2 separate regions of the Homo sapiens genome follow, and region 1 is linked to region 2. The links are contacts of gene promoters, found by promoter capture Hi-C in blood cells and fetal thymus (Javierre and others, 2016). All regions are on one chromosome and are shown on one strand. The core of a region is centred on a gene start or on the middle of the fragment in contact, and the rest is flanking DNA. Distances in the headings are between cores, read along the strand shown.

Region 1 (2,700 bases), core at 85-2,584, 4.4 Mb after region 2:
ACTGCCCAACTCTGGGGGCCTCCTTCCTCTGCCCTGGGCCCTCCCACATACCCATTTCTTAGGGGCTCCAAGTCCACATCTCCCATCTCCCCATCCCCACACACTCACCCTGGGCAGCAGCCAGCTCCTGCAGGGCATGGGTCATCTGGGTGAAGGTGTCATGCAGGTGGCTTCTCTCATCATAGTCTGGCGGTGAGGGAGGGAGCAGGGGCTGGGGGAGGCAGCTCCCCGCAACACCATGTCCCTAATGCGAACATTCTGTTTCTGAGTCTCTGCCCTCCCAAGTCTGTATCCTCCCCTCTCTGACTCTTTGCCCCACAGTCGCTATGCTTCCTGAGTCCCTCCCAAGTCTCTATCCTCCCTGAGTCTCTGCCCCCGACCAGTCGCTATCCTGCTTCCCCTAGTCTCTGCCTCATCTCTGTCCTCCTCTCTCTGGGTTTCCATCCTCTTTGAGTCTCCATCTTCCACCCTCTGAGTCTCCATCCTCCCCTCTCTGGGTCTCTATTCCCTCTCCAGTCTCCAACCTCTCCTGACTCTCCATCCTCCCCTTTCTATGAGTCTCCATCCTCCTGACTCTCCATCCTCCCGAGTGTCCATCCTCCCCTCTCTGACTCTCCATACTCCTGAGTCTCCATCTTTCCGAGTCTCCATCTTCCTCTCTCTCTGAGTCTCCATCCTCCCCCTCTCTGAGTCTCCATCTTCCCCTCTCTGACTCTCCATCCTCCCCTCTCTGAGTCTTTGCCCTGCTGTCTTCCCCTGTCTGTGTCTCTCTGTCCCTAAGTCTCTGTTGTTCTCATGGTCTTTGAGCCTTTCTCCTCTGACTGTTTCTCTCTGTCTGTCCCTCAGCCTGACCCTCTGGGCCTCTCCTGCCCTCCCTCTGCACCTTCCCCAGGACACTGATGAAGTGTGGATGGTCTCCTCACTGATTTCGGTGTCAGAGAGGCCCTGGAAGGCGGCCGTGAAGGCCTCCTCACACTCTTCAAGCTTGGGGCTCCGCATCCCAACAAACATCTGGCAGATGCGGAGGCGCTCAGAGTAGGTTGTGAAGCAGAGGAGACAGGCCCAGGCGGGCACCCTGAAGACAGCCAGGGCCAGCAGGGCAGACGGGACGGCACTGGCCAGAGCCAGCAGGGCCATCGTGTGGGTCTCAAGGCCAGGGGAGAAGCTAGTAACCTTTATGAAGTCACCACAGGGCGGGGGAAGGGCCAGTGGTCTGGGGTCAGAGGTCAGGTTTCAGTTGGTGGTCAAATGTCATGCTCTGGAGGAAGGGTATGAGGAGTCAGGGGTCAGAAGTCAGGCCAGCAATTCCCCAGGTGTGTGGTTGGGCCAGACGCCAGGCTCCCAAGAACCTCACCTGTGACCCTGGATGTCCTCACAGGTTAAAGGGTCTCAGGGACCTAGAGACTGGCAACATGGTGTGCGGTGGCCCGGTAGACCCTGGGGTGGGGGTCAGAGATGGAGATAGGCACAGAGACATTCTGAGAGCCAGAGACAGAAAGACCAAAAACGACAGAAATAGAGACACAGAGAGATATCGGGAGGGGCAGAGACCTAGAAAGCCAGAATAAGAGGGAGTCAGAGGATCCACTGTGAAAGAGACACAGAAGCCACAGAGACACAGCAGAGATGGAGACAGACAGGGAAGGAAAACAGATTTCAGGGGAAGGAGGGGATGCAGGGACAAGGACAGAAAAGAGCCCGGCTCTTCCTCCCAGGGTCCCTGGGGCAGCCCAGTGGGGCTAAGGGTCCCTGAGTGGGGCTGGGGGTCCCCGCCGGGCCCCGTCCCGTGCAGGGCGCAGCCTGGGGAAAGCTAGGAGGCCGTATAGTGATCTCCTTGGGTGTCCTCCTCAACTATACAACCTCCTACCTCAGCCCGGGGGGCGCGGCAGGTGGACAGACCCGACAGACAGACAGACAGGGACCAGGAGGACCAGGGATGAGGGGGAGGGCCGGGGAGGCCCCAGCCGCGATGGTGAGCCCCCGACACGGACCCACAGACACGAGCTTGTGTGCGGCGAAGGCCCCGCAAGGTCGGTTCTACGGGTGGGTGCCAGGACCCAGGAGTCCGGGCCCCCGGCCCCTCCTCCCCAAGGAACCCAGGAGTCCAGGCCCTCAGCCCCTTCCTCATCAGGGACCCTGGAGTCAAGGCTCTCATCCCCCTCCTCCCTAAAGAACCCAGAAGTCTAGGCCCTTCCTCACCACAGACCCAGGAATCCAGGCCTCTGGCCCTTTTCTCCCCAAATGTTCCTGGAATCCAAGGACTCAGCCCCTTCCTCCCTCAGACTCATGAGTCCAGATCCAAAGCCTCCTTCTCCCCAGAGACCCAGGAGTCCCTGCCCCCAGCCCCTCCTCCCTCCGGCCAGGCAGGCCTCCTGGGGAAGGCATGGCCTGATAGAAAACCTGGCTTCCTGGGTGCCGGCTGGGAGGGAACCTCATTTGTCTCGTAATTTGGCCCTTTGGGCACACCTGCTTCCTACCTACCCTCCTGTCAGTCTGCAGAGACTCCAGGCCCAGGGCTAAGGAGGCCAGGGGCTAGCCAACCATCAGAGCCTCCCTAGGTGCTTTCTTTCCTCTCTCCTCCCTTCTTTGGGTCATTTACAACTATGACAGCCACAATCTCCCAGCGCTGACCCCATACCAGGCCCTGAGCACCAGTCCTCTCCCTGACACCTCCCACTCCAGAGAGCGAGGTGCCCTCAG
Region 2 (2,726 bases), core at 128-2,627:
TCTGAAGGAGGGACACAGATATCCTCCTATTGACACACACAGTTAACACAGCACTGTTCACCCCACCCCATGGAAAGATGTTATTAAATCAATAATATACATCTTATGATTGATGCTCACTGAGCTTTGAGGGTATACAGTGGCCACAACAATAGACTTATATGTAACACTGCTAATAGGTAATAATAACCACCATCATTTTTGTGAACTTACTATGGGCCAGGTATTGAACTAAGCAGCTCTTACACATATTACCTTGCAGGTTATCTTATTTTTTCCCATTCCACAGATGAGAAATTGAGGCTGAGAAAGGTGTTATTCCACCAGTGAATTATAGCTTCTTATCTTTTCTGACTACCAGTGAGGATGATAACAATTATAAGCGATAAGTCATCTGCCACTTAGGTGAGAGTCAGCCAAGTACAGAACAGAGGAAGGACCAGAAGGACCAGCCTACAAGGACACTATGGTTTGGACAATTATTTTAAAATATGTGTTTTTTGCAAGAATACCAACAGTAACAGCTAACACCCAGTGCGTCCTTACTAGGTGCCTACCTAACGCGGGGGAAGTAGTGGATTCTCAGGGCTATGACACGAGGCAGTGTGTACAGTCAAGGGTTAAATACACGAATTTAGAGCCAAACTCCATGGGTTCGGGCCGAGGCTCTGGCATTCCGGGTGTGTGACTTTTGGTAGGTGATTTGACTCCTCACCTGCAACATAGGGATAGGACCTACCATGAGGCCCTAGTTAGGACTAGGACCTAGTGCGTGTGAAGCACTTGGAGGCGCACAATGTATTTTCATCACTTCAGAAAGGAGGAAACTGAGGCCATGGCACCTGAAGCGCAGCACTCTCTGTCCAGTAACTAAGGAACCCGGGGTCTCTGTCCAGTAACTAAGGCACCTGGACTCGGGCCACTGGGAGGTGCAGCGGCAGAGAAGGGGTTACCATGATAGAGACGGTAGGAGGACCCGGGGTGGCACGAGCGTCCCTCTCCACCACTTCACTCTCCTCACGGCGGGCCCGGGGACCCGGCCGCGCAGGCGCGAGGAGCCCGGGTTGTCGGGGGGGCACCGCCCTAGACACCCGGAAGTCTCCGCCTAACGGGCCCAGCCCGCACCTCCTGTCCGGGAAGGGGGCGGGGCCGAAGCCCCTCGGCGCGGGGCGCCATAGAGCATGGACGGAGGACCTGCGTCCTAGACACTTCCGGAAGTGGCTCCCTCAGGCGCCCGCCGGGCACCACAGAGCTGGGGGCGGTGGCCGGGATAGCGGGCTCGCCTTCCTAGAGCGGCGAGGACAGGGTGGCGGCCCGGGGGGCAGGGAGTAGGGAGAAGGGGGGGAGCGGCGCGGGCGGAAGCGGCCGGGAAGGTCACTTCCGGCCTGGGCGCCCGTCCCCCTGACCCCAGGGTCTGAGTCGCCGCTGCCGCCGCTGCCACCATCCGCGAGGCAGGAGAGAGGAGGAGGAGTGCGGCGCGGCGGCCCCGGGACCAAGGAGGTGAGGGGTGGGGGCGGGGGCCGTGCGCTGGGGGCCAGGTGGGCGCGCGCTTCGGGAAGCTGGGCTTGGGCTGGGGGTGGGTGGGGAGACTGGAGGGCGAGCGCGACTGGGCGGCGGGCGCGCGTGCGCGCTGCTGGGGGGGCGTGAGTGGGCGCGCGGCCGGGGTGACGCGGGCGGGGGGAGTGCGCGTGCGCGCCGAAGAGCTGTGGGAGGGGACGCGCGCCCGGGCGGCCCGCGGGCGGCGAGCGGGGCTGGAGGGGGGGTGCGCGTGCGCGGGTCCGGGTCCAGGGCGCGCGCGTGCGCGTGGCGGGGGCAGGAGCGGGGGCCTCGGTGGGGGTCCCTCTGCTGCGGGCCGTCGGGGGTGGGGCCGCTGTCCGTCCCCCCGAAGTTCCAACTCCGCCGGTCGTGGCCGGAAGTGGTGGCGACTTCGGGGGGAAGTTGAGGCCCAGGTGGGGGAAGGGGCCGCGCGGTTGGGCTGGCCTGGCCGGATACCGCGGCCCCGAGGGCACGGTCTCAGCCCTCGGCCCCCCCAGCCCTTCCTTCCCCTTTTCGAGTCAGCCCGGGTCCCGTTGCTGCCCCGGGCGGGCTGCGCGTGGCCTTTGATCAGGCGGGTAATTACGGGGATTCTGGCCGGCAGGAGGCCCATTCATTCGTCCTTGCTCGGCAGGCGGGGAGGAAGCGCGTCCCCAGCGGGGGAAGTGACTGGGCCAAGGTCAGCCACCGCGTGGCCCACGGGGCAGGGCGAAGGCGGGGACTGGATCGGGTGGCGACTCCTGAGGCCTCCCTCCCCTGTGCCGAGTGGATCAGAGTGGAGCCCCGCCCTCCTGACACCCCACCCCGACCCCCAGTCCAGGGAGCTGACCCCAATTCATGTGGATGAGTGCTCTGGGACCTGCAGAGTCGCACAGAAAAGTGACCCACAGACACAGAAGGCAGGAGTGAGTGGAGGCAGAAGTTTTTCCAGTGCCAGGCCCTGTGCCGGGCACTAGAGACAGGGAGCAGGGAGATGAACAAGGGCTTGGAGTCTGGGTGGAAGGCAGAGACTGAGACCCGGGCGACAGAGTCGCCATCCAAGGTGACCAGACCCCTGATGGAGAGGTCTGGGGGCTGTGGGAGCCAGGGAAGGCATTTTGACCCAGCCCAGTCCGGGGGATGGTCAGGGCTTTAGGGAAGGAATGGCTTGGTCTGCTCTTTGCGGTGTCCTGCTCCCAGGTCCCATGTTGCGC

Evidence for each region. Contacts are between HindIII fragments. The CHiCAGO score rates a contact against its expected background, and 5 or more counts as called.
Region 1: a contact is called between the fragment with the promoter of SPACA6 here and the fragment with the promoter of ZNF787 in region 2, in 2 of 17 cell types (naive CD4 T cells and activated CD4 T cells). The highest score is 7.2, in naive CD4 T cells.

Annotation. Positions count from the first base shown.
Region 1 is chr19:51,691,964-51,694,663 of GRCh38, reverse strand. It overlaps SPACA6 (sperm acrosome associated 6), which reads right to left and starts at 1,334. Exons shown (of 9, transcript NM_001316972.2): 1 at 924-1,334; 2 at 109-186. The coding sequence starts at 1,137. It overlaps SPACA6-AS1 (SPACA6 antisense RNA 1), which reads left to right and starts at 1,208. Exons shown (of 2, transcript NR_108100.1): 1 at 1,208-2,030. MIR99B (microRNA 99b) reads right to left here and starts at 2,052; the gene lies at 1,983-2,052. It overlaps MIRLET7E (microRNA let-7e), which reads right to left and starts at 1,878; the gene lies at 1,800-1,878. It also overlaps MIR125A. The HindIII fragment of the contact is 8,848 bases long and covers 987-2,700 here.
Region 2 is chr19:56,119,946-56,122,671 of GRCh38, reverse strand. ZNF787 (zinc finger protein 787) reads left to right here and starts at 1,377. Exons shown (of 3, transcript NM_001002836.4): 1 at 1,377-1,500. It overlaps LOC124904772 (a long non-coding RNA gene), which reads right to left and starts at 1,062. Exons shown (of 2, transcript XR_007067348.1): 1 at 740-1,062. RefSeq lists silencers at 881-1,250, 1,341-1,460, 1,471-1,550, 1,841-2,160, 2,241-2,290 and enhancers at 895-1,610, 2,038-2,332. The HindIII fragment of the contact is 11,888 bases long and covers 1-2,726 here.